Regions from separate parts of the Homo sapiens genome. Here regions 2 and 3 are each linked to region 1. Evidence: promoter capture Hi-C in 16 types of primary human blood cells and fetal thymus (Javierre and others, 2016). All regions are on one chromosome and are shown on one strand. The core of a region is centred on a gene start or on the middle of the fragment in contact, and the rest is flanking DNA. Distances in the headings are between cores, read along the strand shown. Region 1 holds the start of NKX2-4 (NK2 homeobox 4). Region 2 has its middle 5.9 kb from the start of LINC00237. Region 3 overlaps KIZ (kizuna centrosomal protein).

Region 1 (4,405 bases), core at 1,129-3,628:
GTTTACAGAAGGATAGGGTTATTTATTTTCTCAGTTGATGTTGGGAGACCAGATTTCATATACAAATAGTATACAACCTTTCTTATGGTGAGCTGCATCTTAGGGGGGAAAATCCTCTTTTAGCGTAACATACAAACACTCACTTGCCAAATAATCATCAAAACATTTTGAAATCAGCATTAAATTTAAAAAGCTCCATCAATCCATATAATCAGTATTTTATTTTGATTCCATTGCTCTATTACCTAAATGGCAATAATTCCTCTGCAATAATGTTGCTATGTGTATGATCCACCTTGAGCTACACTTCAATTTACTTTCAATCAAACATTAATGAAATTGCACTTAGGGGGCCCTTCGAAAATTAATCTCCCAAGATAAATTCCACTTCAAAAAGGACTGATTGTTAAAGCTGGGTTGATTTTTATAGTTACAAACGCCAACAAAGTTTCCAACTTTGAGAGCTGTAGTTAAGAATGCCGTGTGAACTTCTCCACCTTTTCGCGTCATTTAAGAACTTCTAGGAGGAGAAAATCACCACCTCAAAGCCTCGTGGCATAATGTTACACTACTCGGTTTCCGGGCTGTCGCTGTCCCCCGCCCCCAGCAAGAGGTTCACAGCCTGCTCCTCTCTGAGACCGGTTCGTTTTGAATCGCAGTTTACACGCGCGAGTCGGTTTTCGCATGCCTCCCCCATCCGTTCTAGCAGTTTCTTGCAGACCCTTCGGGTGCACCAGGACCTAGCCCCGGGGCGCCCTCGCTGTCACCACGTCCTGCCATAGAGCAGGTTGGCGCCCAGGACGCCGCCGCTGTACTCCCCGGCGGCCGCGTCCAGGGCCGCCAGGCCGCCCCCCGGGCCGTGCAGCGCGGGTGGGCTGGGCGACAGCTCCTCCAGCTCAGGTGCTGGCGTCGGGGCCGGCGGCTGCGGACCGGCCTGGCCGGGGGTGGGCGTGCTGGCGCCGTTCTGGCACGGCTTGCCGTCCTTGACCAGCACAGGCACCGCCACGCGGCGCGGGGACGGCGGCGGAGGCGGCGGCGGGCCCAGGCCGCCCTCCTGCTGCAGCTGCTGCGCCGCCTTGTCCTTGGCCTGCCGTTTCATCTTGTACCGGTGGTTCTGGAACCAGATCTTGACCTGCGTGGGCGTCAGGTGGATCATGCTGGCCAGGTGCTCGCGCTCGGGCGCCGACAGGTACTTCTGCTGCTTGAAGCGCCGCTCCAGCTCGTAGACCTGCGCCTGCGAGAAGAGCACGCGGCGCTTCCTTCGCGGAGCGGCTGCCGCCGCCGCCGCGTGCAGCGGGCCCAGCGACTTGGCGGCGTCCGCGATGCCGGTCAGCGACCCCATGCCGGCCACATTCACGCCCGCCGACGGCCCCATGAACCTGGAGACTGGGGAAGAGTCCCAAGGGGGAAGGCGAGTGAGCTCCAGGCCCGCCGGGAGCCGGTCCAGCCGCCGCTCTCTTCACGCCGCGGCCGCGACGCCGCCGGGCCCTCGCTGAATCCCAAGACCCCCTGACCGCCGCGGCCTCCGGCCCCAGCACGCCCCGCGCGCCCTCGGCGGGTCCCAGAGCACCACGCCCTCAACGGGTCCCAGGACGCCGCGCGCGTTCCCGGTCAGGTCCCAGGACCCCCCGCGCGCCCAGGGTCCCCAGAAACCCCGCGCGTCCCGGGCCGCGTCCCAGGACGCCCCGCGCGCCCGCTCGGCCCCAGGACCTCCTAAGCCGCGCGCACCCCGTCCCGCGCCCCCGCGCCCCTCGGCTGTGGCGGGAAACGCCTGAGCCGCCCGCAGCCCCGCGCTCCTGGCCCCTCTCACTTGACGAGTAGCGTGGGTCCGGGTTGGCGCCGTACCAGCCGGTGGCCGCGCCGCCCCGCATGCCGTCCGTGTAGGCGGGCAGCTCGCCCATGTTGCCCAGGCCGCCGTTGCAGTAGCTGCCCATGGCGCCGTGCGGGAACTGCGAGACGCCGGGCGGCATGTGGTAGGTGGCGGCCGCCGCCGCCGCAGCTGCTGCCGCCGCCGCCGCGGCCGCCGCGTTGTGACCCGCCATGGCGTGAGAAGGCTGCATGCCCGCCACGGTCGCCGCCTGCGAGGAGGGCCCAGGTGGCGGCGCGCGGTAGGCGGCCGCGGCCCCCAGGGGCGCCCCCAGGCCGGGTGGCGCGCCGTCCATGGCGCCGCTGAACTTCTTGTAGGTCTCCTCGATGGGGCTCAGGATGTCGGACACGGAGAAGGGCGTCGTGTGCTTTGGGCTCAACGACATGGCTCGGCGGGCAGCCAGGTAGGGGGGCCTGGGGCGCGCGCCGGCAGGACGCGGCGGCCGCTCGTCGCCGCCACCTCGGCCGCGGCAGCTGAGCCTGTGACGAGGAGTCGGCGGCTCGGCGAGCCCCCCGGGCTGCGGGATCTGGGGTTTATTTTAGTCCGGCGCCAGGTTTACGACAGACTCGGGGGGCGGAGCAACATCCCAAACGAGCAAACAATGGTCATTGACATCTTTTTCTCTCGCCCCCCCAACCCCCGCCCCATAATGGAGGCAAAAAAAGGTAAAAGGGGCAGTTGGGTGTTTCTTGGAAAGATCACTCCCCGTTGCTTTTCCCATCTTTGCTTTTCCCATCCTTTGCTTTTCCCATCCTTCGCTCCTCCATCCGCGGCCGTTACCCCAGCCCTCGAGCACCAGAAATAGAAACTCGGAGGCTGGCGTCGAGGCTAGACATGGACTCCGCGCCTGGCCCCTTCCAGATCCCAGTTTTCTAAAGTGACTTCGCACCAAAGTCCGGTATAATTGCGGAATGGGGAACGTGCTGCTAAGTTTGGGGGGAGGGTGTTGCGGGGGCTTGCTTCGTCCTCTCCAGTTATCAGCCCCTCATTCGCTCCATCACCTAAAGTGTTAAAAAAAAAAAAAAAGGCTCTTGGGTCCCACCGTAAGAGCGCATAAAGAGAGGAGGTACAATGACCGTCCTTTGCCATTGTAGGGCTCCCTAATTTATGCGTTTTTAGACCCTTAAGCATCATTTTGTGGGCAACCAAACGGGCACTTCCAAATTAGCTCAAAGTATCCAAGCCCAGAGAAGAGAGAAAACACACATACACTGATAAATACGCAGATGCTAACTTGTAAGTATTCTGTTTTTCCTCTGTGGGGATGGAAATTGAACAAGGGAAAGAGGGGGAACATTTTTATTTCCTAAAATGTTTCCTACTGAGTTTGCACTTGTAAAGTTTTTTCTGCTTTCTTTCCCTTTGTGTGTGTTCTTACTCTCTTTCTCTCAGTAAATATCTCTGACTTAAGTTTATTCTCCCATCACTACCGTGATCAAAAAGAAGAGAAAGACAAAATATCAAAACTTCCAAATATTTCTAGTTGTTCGCAACGGGTCTTTTTGTTGTTGTTGGAAAAATATAACCTGTTCAAGCGATATGAAAATGGATGCAGAAATCAGGTGAAAATTGTAGTTTCTTTGGAAAAATACAAAACCATAGATAAACAGATTTTTAAAACTTTGTCATCCTTTGACTTGCAGTTTTACCCGAATACTTAGACATTATGAACTCTCTACTAAATACTGAACAAGACAAAGCATAAGACAAAAGCAGTGTGCAAAGCATATTGATTAAATTTTGAAAACAATCTTGCAGCAATAATAATGATAACGAGAAAACAAAGATAACACTTTTAAGTTTTCCTGGAAACTGGAGCAGGAGAAAGAAAAACAAGGAGAGTGCTTTCTTAAGCAATATTTTGTTTTATTTTTTTTCCAGAAAAGGGTGTGTGGAATCGATTTAAGTTTAACCTGACAGTACATGTCTTGAAGGCAAGAACAGTGTTACATATTCCTTTTTCTGTTTGGTTTTAGCCCTTTGGTGGAAATGTTCTCCATGGTTTTGTTCTTAGGATTTTAATAATTGTTTTGTTCAACTCAGTATGGTTTTGCAAAGAATCTGCCCTTTCTAGGGGGGAAAAAGCCATAGGTCACCTGTGGGAAGGAAGTGACAGACGAATGTTAAGAGTAATGTTTTAATATACTGTAAAAATAAAATGCAAGGTTACAGGAATTGTTTACAAACATCAGTATTGACTTAGCAAGATTAATATTGCTACAGTTTTAACACGATGCTACTTTTACAGGTCTTTTATGAACTTGAAACACATCGGCTAGGTCTTCATCCTCACCTGCACTGGAATTACCTACTTAAGAAAAACAAACTAATGATACACAAAGAAGCACTTATGTATGTATTTAAACACTTGCTGGGATCCTTCTGAAAACTACAGTTTGAATTTTACGTTTCCGGTTTAGTTTAAATTGTATTGTTTACTTGTATGTATTAGCTTAAATAAAATAATAGTCATTTCAAATGTTTCTCAGAGACAACAGGGTAAGTAAAAAATAGTTGTGTTATGACATCTGTGAATAT
Region 2 (4,405 bases), core at 812-3,311, 290 kb before region 1:
TTTTAGCTCTTTCGAACTTTCTTGCTCTCAAATTCCCAAGACTCATCAATGAGATGGACTATTCTGCTGTCATTAAATTGACAATGCATATTTTAACACCAAGCTGAAAATCAAATGAATAAAGATTTAAATACGATAAGATGGACAGATTACTAAATTATAAAAATTGTGGCACTGAAGAGGTTATAAAGTTAATTAAATAGTCGGTAGGTTAAGGAAAAAGTGGTTTTATTCTTCTTTATTAAGTTGCTTAAATAACCCTGAAATATTTCTGTGGTTTTATGATGAGAGTTTTTATTGGCGCTTTTGTGAAATAATGGCAATGACCTTGGCTATGGGCTTTCTACAGAACAAGAGGTAACACTTCTCATCAATGATGTCACCAAAATATTCTAGAAATCAGGTTGAATATCATAATAGAGAAAAAAACATGAGGTCCAATTATTTTCCTACTCTTGGAATGCCCAGGTGCATTTTCTGAGACTTGAGGGGTCATGGGAATCTTTGTATTTCTTTTCCTTGCCCATAGCCGATAACTCTTTTCTTTCTGTTTTTTTTTTATTGCCCAAAGATAATGATGTCACAATTTCAACATGTTTATTAGAAATTTATTTCTATAGAGAAATTCAGCTCTGAAATATTCAAGGAAACTTAAAACAGGGAAAAGAATGTTGGAGAAGGAATCCCATGGAGTGTTAGAGTGTGAAGTGGTAGAAAATTCCAACTTATTGCTATCTTCGTTGCTGTACACACCTTGCAATATCCAGTTGGCCTGAGGCTCTCACTTCATTTCATATTGTCACTTCTAGACCACAATTTCATTCCCTCTATTTTTTTTTGTTTGTTCTGTTTTTAAGAGACAGGGTCTCACTATGTTGGCCAGGCTGAAGTGCAGGGGCTGTTCACAGGCACTATCATAGCACACTGCAGCACTGAACTCCTGGGCTCTGCAATTCTCCCAGGTAGCTGAGACTATAGGCACAGGCCACTGCACCTGGCCCCTCTACCTTCTATTTAAAATTCATCCCACTGACTTCAGGTTCTGCTTGGGGATAAAAGAGAGCTGGAAAGAGCATTGCTCTCATCTTACAGCAACAAAGGCCAGAAAGCCAGTAAGTATGTCTGTTGTTGAAGGCACCAGAGTACTAATATCACAAGGTAACCAACTGGCCCAAGACTTAGGCTCAGGGTGAGACTTCCTGTGCATGCCCGAAGCCCTCCATCTGACAGCTTCTGAGTGTATCCACCGAGTTCTTCAGTGCAAATCTGGAGCATGGAGAGGAAGTTGAACAGTTCCCCTTTAAGCAAGGTAGTATATTCTAGTAGTCCTATAATAGGGCTTGAAATCAGTCTTAGTCCTCCAACATTCTTTCCACAATTCTTCTTTATAGAGTTGTTTTGGCTGTTAGAAACAGCTTGTCAATTTCTTTAAAAAAAAAAAACCTGCTGGGATTTTGATAGGGAATTTGTAGAATTTATCAATCAATTTGGAGAGAATTGACGTCATAACAATATTGAGTGTCCTCACTCATATTTCTCTCCATTGATTTAGATCTTCTTTCATTTCTCTTAGCAATATTTGCAGTTTTCAGTGTGCAGTTCTGTCACATTTTTTGTCAGATTTGTCCCTAAATATTTCATGGTTTTCGATGCTATTGTAAATGGTATTTAAAATTTTTCAGTTTCCTATTGTTTGTTGCTGGTATATAGAAATACAATTGAGTTTTATATATTGATCTTTTATCCTACAACCTTGCTAAACTCACTTATTAGTTCTCTGCAAGGCAGTAGAAACCAGAATGACACAGCCTGGTTTCCCTCCTCCCCATTATCCTAAGAGGACATTTGTCATGCAGATGACCATAGGTTGCCCTCTACTTCTCTGTCTTCTGCCAGGCTTTGAACAGGAGAAGCAACCTCTCCAAGCCTCAGGATAATAATGCTCACCTTGCCGTGCTATAGTTAGGAGTAATAAGAACCTACATGTTGAAAGCCCAGCCAAGGCCTGAATCATAGCACTCAGTATATGTCAGTGTCCTTTGATTAATATTCTAAGTTCTCCATGGAAACTTCTTTTGTGCTCCCAAGTGCTAAATACCCTTTAGGTCCAAGTGTTCAAAGCATCCTCACTTGTTGGCCTATCATGATATGCTCCATTAAGGAACTAAAAACTATGTTTTTAGTTAATGCACATGCTGTTTCTAAATAGCTGATGCTGTTAGAGTTCATTTCTCCTTTCTTACCCTGCAGGTTACATAGTGTCTGTACAGTCCAGGACATCCTCCACCTCTCTGTTTGAGGGTGTTCTCTGGTGCTGGGACTTCTTGGGAGATTGCAAGCAAGACTGGAAATACTAGAGTTGTCTTAGTTCAAGTTGCTGTAACAAAATATGTTAGACTGGGTAACTTATAAACAACAGGAAAGTAGAGTGCTCGCAATTCTGGAGGCTGGGAAGTTCAAGATTGACGTACCAGCAGACTGGGTGTCTGGCAAGGACTCACTACTTCACTGATGGCATCTTCTTGCTACATCCTCACATGGTGGAAAGGCAAAAGGGGCAAACAGCCTCCCTCAGGCCTCTTTTACAAGAGCACTAATCCCATTCATGAGGGCTCTGCCTCCCAAAAGCACCACTTCTTAATATCAAAACACTGGGGACCAGGTGTGGTAGCTCACATCTGTAATCGCAGCACTTTGGGAGGCTGAGGCGGGTGGATCACTTGAGGTCAGGAGTTCAAGACTAGCCTGGCCAACATGGTGAAACTCCGTCTCTACTAAAAATAGAGAAATTAGCTGGGTGTGGTGGTGCATGCCTGTAATCCCAGCTATTCGAGAGGCTGAGGCAGGAGATTCACTTGAACCCGGGAGGCAGAGGTTGCAGTGAGCTGAGATCACATCACTGCACTCCAGCCTGGGCAACAGAGCAAGACTCCGTCTCAAAAAAAAAAAAAAAACAAAAAACAAAAAACACTGGGTATTCAATTTCAACATATGAATTTTGGAGTATTGCAAACATTCAGACCATAGCAGGAGTTAATCTAAGGAGCAACCCTCCATCAATGAGTGGTGGGAGTGGATAGATTCAAAAGCCTACTTTCTCATCCCTCAGTCAAGATGATTCTGTTCTATCCTTCCATAGTCCCTTAGAGGTCCCCAGCTGAATTGAGTCACAGCTGTCCTCAGTGGTAACCTGCTCATTAAGGCCTCTTAAATCTGCTTCCTTCCTTTCTCTGTCTAATGGTCCCTGTCTCTCAACCACTTTCTGGGATAACCTCCAAAATAAACTAGTTGTGCCCTCCAACCTTGTCGTGGGATCTGCTTTGGGGAATCAAAAATAAGATAGGTCATTTGACAAATGATCAAGGTAGTTAGTAGCAGAACTAGAATTAGAACCCAGGTCTTCTGGTTCTAGACTATGTTCTTTAGTTTTACCAGATGTGGGAGTAATGCACTTGAAACAATGATAACACAGCATCCAGCAGTGTGTAATTGGACACTAATAGCCCAGCACTGGCTCCTCATGCCATGCTTGTATCCTAAGGCTGGTATTAGGAATTACTCTTCTGAGTGGGTTCAAGTAGCAACATAATCAGCAAATGAAGTGGCGACTGAGGTGCGGGTCACTGAAGCCAAGAAGGGATAATTTTTTAAAGATAATGAAATAGTAGTGATATGGGATATTTTAAAATCTCATGGGGGGAAGGGAGCCTACAGTAGTGGTGCACAGCTCTAAGTATGACTTAATGATGCAAGTTTTTAAAAGCCCAGAGGTACTGGTCAGCAGCATTTACTAGACCACGTGTTTCCATAAGCAAGGCACATGTACACATTTGACAAATGACTTATTAGTAGTGCTATAGTGTGGCGCTGCTGTGATGTACTAGAAAGATGCCTACCCCATGACATTTTATGTCAATTTTAAAAGTTAAATACAAGTTACTATATTAAATGCCATCACTGTCAATATCATAGTATATGAAATGAAAACAGTCTCATCAAAACAGGACTAGATAAATTGCATCATGTAAGATCCACAAAACAAAACTCTACATAACTGTTTAAAAGGATGAGGCAGATCTATAGCTTTCCATATCCTGATACAGTAGGATCGCCAAGATATGTTCAGCAAAAACACAAGATGCAGAACGGTGTGTAAAGAGTGCTGCTATTTACATATTTTAAATGCTATAGGAGCTGGGTTCAGAAATGTAGAGGTGCTCAGATAGACAAAGATGTGCTTAGAATAACTCAGGAAGGCCAAGTAAGATACTGGTAACTCATTGCCTCCGGAAAAGGAAACTGGAAGGCTTGTGGCAGGAAGGAGAGGGACATTTTTTGCTGTCTTTTTCACAGTTGAATTTCCTATGATGTATTGTTTCAAAAATATTATAATAATGAAAAAATA
Region 3 (4,405 bases), core at 730-3,229, 270 kb before region 1:
ATAATTATGTACTTTATGATTAACACTTATTTAATTATTAAACAAGGTGAGGCTGTTGAAAATATATAAGGAATGTGAATCAAATTTTATAGCCTGTTCACGGTTCTGCATTTCGAGATTTGTTTTATTTTTAAGTCAGTACAAATCTGTTGCTGTGTGTGTTCATTTTTCATTTTAAGAATTTATAACTAACTCAAATTAATGCACACTGGACACAGTTATAGAGGCAAATAATTCTAGATACAGAAAAGGCTGCAGTAGAAATATCAAAACCTGGATTCTAGTCCACGAACAATTGTGTGACCTTGAGCAGGTTGTTCCACCTCTCTGAACCTTGGTTCTTTACCAGGAATGAGGGGGCTTGACTAATATGCAAAGTAAGGCCACAGATTTTTTTCTTTCTCTCTTTGCTAGAATAATGGGCCTTAAAGTAAAAAAAGAAAAAAAAGCTGAAAGCTGTAGTTTTGCAAAGCAATGTGTAAAGAATATTATTGTCTGTATCCAATTTGAGTGTTTGGATGTACCTTTTTGTTTGTTTGTTTATTTGTTTGAAACATAGTCTCACTCTGTCACCCAGGCTGGAGTGCAATGGCATGATCTCAGCTCACTGCAACCCCCACCTCCCAGGTTCAAGCGATTGTCCTGCCTCAGCCTCCCTAGTAGCTGGGATTACAGGCGCCCACCACCAACCCCAGCTAATTTTTGTATTTTTAGTGGAGATGGGGTTTCACCATGTTGGCCAGGCTGATCTCGAACCCCTGACCTCAGGTGATCTGCCTGCCTCTGCCTTCCAAAGTGTTGGGATTACAGGTGTGAGCCACTGCACCCGGCCTTGGTTGTACCTTTTTAAACAAAGAAACACAAAGCATCCCACTGATCACAGATACCACTGTCTCCTAAAATTCCTGAGTCATTTCATAGGGAGCAACCCTGGGTAGTCACAGCTGCTTTATCAATCCAGAAACTTCTGGGAAGTGGGAGACAAAAAAAAACTCCCTCTTTCTCAGCCCTTTTAGAGGTGGTCATTGCAATGTTAGCTGGTCAAATAACCAGCATATTTCCAGCCCAAGTCATGTTAGCTGTAGTTACACGTAGATGTAATTTTATCGTCTGAATGTTTTCCTATGTGTGTACAGTGTTTTTTCTGCATTGTGGTGAAAGTCAATAATTGAATCTAAAAGAGTCTAATGGAGTGACTTGTTACAGTGTGTATAGCACCCACAAGCATGGTAGAAACTTATAAGTGGAATTGGCTCTTACGGTTATACAAAAACATCCTTTTAAAAGGGCCCATTAGCCAGCCGCGGTTTTTTCAGTGCCTATATTGATTCAGAGTAAGATATCATAATAGTCTAGAAACTGACACTGAGATATTAGTAGAGTAAGCTGAAGATGGTATAGAATTGTGGTATCGAGACAAAAACAGAATAACAAGTGGCTTAAAAGTAGAAAACTCAGCAAGATAAGGACCACTTAGCTGTGTAAAACTGAAAGGTCCAAGTGAGGGGTGACTGAAAACATGAACTATGGGTAAGCATCCCAGGGATGGGTATTTCAAAGATTCTGAATAGAGATTTAATATGTAAGAATTGCAAGCCATGGAAAGGCTTTTCATTGAGGCAAATATCTGGTTTTTAGTATTAAATTTTAAAAAGACATGGAGGGCTCAGCATTCTGAGGTGCTGCAGTGTGGATGAGGGGCTAGAAAATAGGCCTGTGAAGAAGAGTTAACAAGATTACCACCGTTTTGCCTGGGAGAGAAAGCCAAGAGGAGTTTGATTATCAGGGTATGAAGTGTTATGATAGAGAAGTGTGAGCAGCAGATGTCTGCATCTGCTGAAGATGTTTTACAAATAAATTTTACATTCATTACTAAGAAGAACTTGCTGCTTGGGAGGTGGTGGATTTCCAAAGTGACTGTGGTCCTTTTTCACTAGAAGTCATAGGTGAATTTTAGAAATTATTTTAAAGTGGCTGGGCGTGGTGGCTCACACCTATAATCCCGGCACTTTGAGAGGCAGAGGCGGGTGGATCACCTGAGGTGAGGAGTTTGAGACCAGCCTGGCCAACATGGCAAAACCCCGTCTCTACTAAAAATACAAAAATTAATTGGGTGTGGTGGCGCATGCCTGTAATCCTAGCTACTTGGGAAACTGAAACAGAATCCCTTAAACCCAGGAGGGAGAGGTTGCAGTGAGCTGAGATTGTGCCATTGTACTCCAGCTTGGGCAACAGAGTGAGACTCCATCTCAAAAAAAAAAAATGTGTGTATATATATATATATTTTTTAAAGTAAATTCTAGCTTACAAAAAAGTTGCGAATATAGGACAAAGACCTCCAGTGTTCCTGTCACCCAGATCCCTCAACTATTAACATTTTATTAGATTTTTGACACTGAGATATCAGTTGGGTATCTATTTAAATCTGTCTATCTAAAACCATTAGCCTTTTCTGATCTGTTTGAGAAGTGCATATATGATGCCTCATCACTCCTAAAATCTTCAATGTGTGTTTCCAAAAGCCAAGGATGTTCTTGTACATGATCACACCATACAGCCCTCCTAGTGGTGAAACCAGTCCGCAGACTGCATCAGATTTCACCAGCTATCTTAACGATGCTCCCTTTTTTTTCCCCCTGGTCCAGTGGCTCACCTGCAAACCGCGGTTGCATTTGGCTGGCATGTCTCTTCAGTCTCCCTACATCTGGAACGATTCCTCAGTCTTTCCCTGTCTTTCATGTTCCTGACAAGTTCATAGAGTACAGCTTTCATTCTAGAGGGTGACCCTCAAGCTGAGTCTATCTGATGGTGTCTCATTACCAGACTGCAGTCGTGCTTTCTTAGGAATACAACAGAAATGAAGCACTACCTCAGGGCATGGGGTCATAGATGTATTCAGAGGTCTTCCTTTCTTTGTAATTTAATGACAAGTTGCTCACACTATCCAGTCATTCATTCTGCATGAACCAAGTACCCAATTGATCATGAAACTCTAGGGGGGGAATGGTAACTAATAAAAATTTCTAATGTGGAAGCAATTATGCTATGTTTCCTTCACTTCTATTCTAAGTTCACTCTTACTAGTGAGAAGGTAAAGATTTGTGATGCTATTAGTTAAAAATGTGTGTTTTTGTAATTTTTTTCCTTTTAATCTTTTTTTTTTCTTTTTAACATAGGCATACTGCAACCCATGGGTTGTGTTCCCCAAGTGAAGATTCTGTGTCTGGATTTTGGACCCCATATTCCCATTAAATGAATTTTGGTTAAATAGTAGTTTCCATTTAACATTATGCAAAGGAAAGAAAGTTATGTAACCTGTAATGTAGCTAACAGTGACTTTTGGGATGATCTTTTTTTTAAAGGAAAAGAACTATTCTGAAGATATATAGAAACTGATAATTAAGAGCTCACAAATGGAGCATGGGGCCAGCCCCTTTCCCTCAGGAAGCCAACCTGAGATCACCTCTGTTGGAGTCCTTATCTTTATTTCACAGCCTTTTGTTTAGGATTCTTTGCTTGGATAGAATATTATGTGGTTTCTTTTTTGGCCTTTACTTAATGTTAACTTAGATGAGCAATTTAGCTTCAATTAGGTGGGATTGAAACAAATAGTGGTGCTCAGATGGAACCCTCTGTGGCTAATCCTCCCAGGCACTCTTCTTGGGACTGAATGGCTTCATCAGTTTTATCCCCCAGCCCCCTGGTTTTGGCTGCCTCTGCTTCCTCTGCTGCCCAGTTCCCCCTCGTCCTTGCCCAGGCTGGTTGTGGGGTAAGACAGGTTTTCTCCTTAGCTTACTGCTAGCACTCACCTGAACAGCACAGGTTCAGTCTTTACTGGTAGTAGCTCCAGGAAAACAGCAACCTGTGACAAATAATGACACCATTACAGAGTTATAAAAAGAAATCCCTCCAAATTTGAAATGATGGTCTTAGAAGGCCTGGTCTTCATCAGATGTAAGTGAGGCCAGGTTTACTTTTCAGAGGTCTTTCTCTATCTCATCCACTTGGCTGTGCCCAGGCTTGTCTGGTTGAAAACAGAGCAAGCCACCAGTCTTCAATCTGTACACAAGATCTGATGGGACCCCATCACCGAAATGCCAGCGACTCAGAGAAGTCTGGCCACGTTACATTTTATATACTTATCTTGTTTATTATTGTCTGTCCTTCTCCCTAGAATGTCAACTCTTTGAGGGCAGGAGTCTTGGCTGGCTAGTTCGCCATATTAGTCTCCAGGCCTAGAACAGTGCCTGGGTCATCATAGGCACTCAGGAAATACTTGCTAAATGAAGGCACCTGCTTCTCAGACTTTTCCTATTGCATTTCCCCATTTACTTTGTGGATTTTATTCTTTTGTCTCCTATTGGTGTTCGTTTTGTTTTTTAGATTTCCCTGGCGACTGCTGCAT

Evidence for each region. The method cuts DNA at HindIII sites, captures the fragments that hold promoters and counts their contacts. A CHiCAGO score of 5 or more calls a contact.
Region 2: a fragment that was not itself captured here is called in contact with the fragment with the promoter of NKX2-4 in region 1 in 3 of 17 cell types (activated CD4 T cells, fetal thymus and total B cells); the score reaches 7.6 in activated CD4 T cells.
Region 3: a fragment that was not itself captured here is called in contact with the fragment with the promoter of NKX2-4 in region 1 in 1 of 17 cell types (activated CD4 T cells); the score reaches 5.1 in activated CD4 T cells.

What each region holds. Positions count from the first base shown.
Region 1 is chr20:21,395,148-21,399,552 of GRCh38, forward strand. NKX2-4 (NK2 homeobox 4) reads right to left here and starts at 2,379. Exons shown (of 2, transcript NM_033176.2): 1 at 1,811-2,379; 2 at 218-1,386. The coding sequence starts at 2,252. The coding sequence ends at 764. LOC105372558 (a long non-coding RNA gene) reads left to right here and starts at 2,787. Exons shown (of 4, transcript XR_001754528.1): 1 at 2,787-3,429; 2 at 4,116-4,219. The HindIII fragment of the contact is 6,496 bases long and covers 1-4,405 here.
Region 2 is chr20:21,110,093-21,114,497 of GRCh38, forward strand. No RefSeq gene overlaps it. Among named protein-coding and RNA genes, the nearest start is that of LINC00237, 5.9 kb to the left of the region's middle. The HindIII fragment of the contact is 7,305 bases long and covers 1-4,405 here.
Region 3 is chr20:21,127,481-21,131,885 of GRCh38, forward strand. The region is part of intron 1 of KIZ (kizuna centrosomal protein); the gene reads left to right. Among named protein-coding and RNA genes, the nearest start is that of KIZ, 3.6 kb to the left of the region's middle. The HindIII fragment of the contact is 7,603 bases long and covers 1-4,405 here.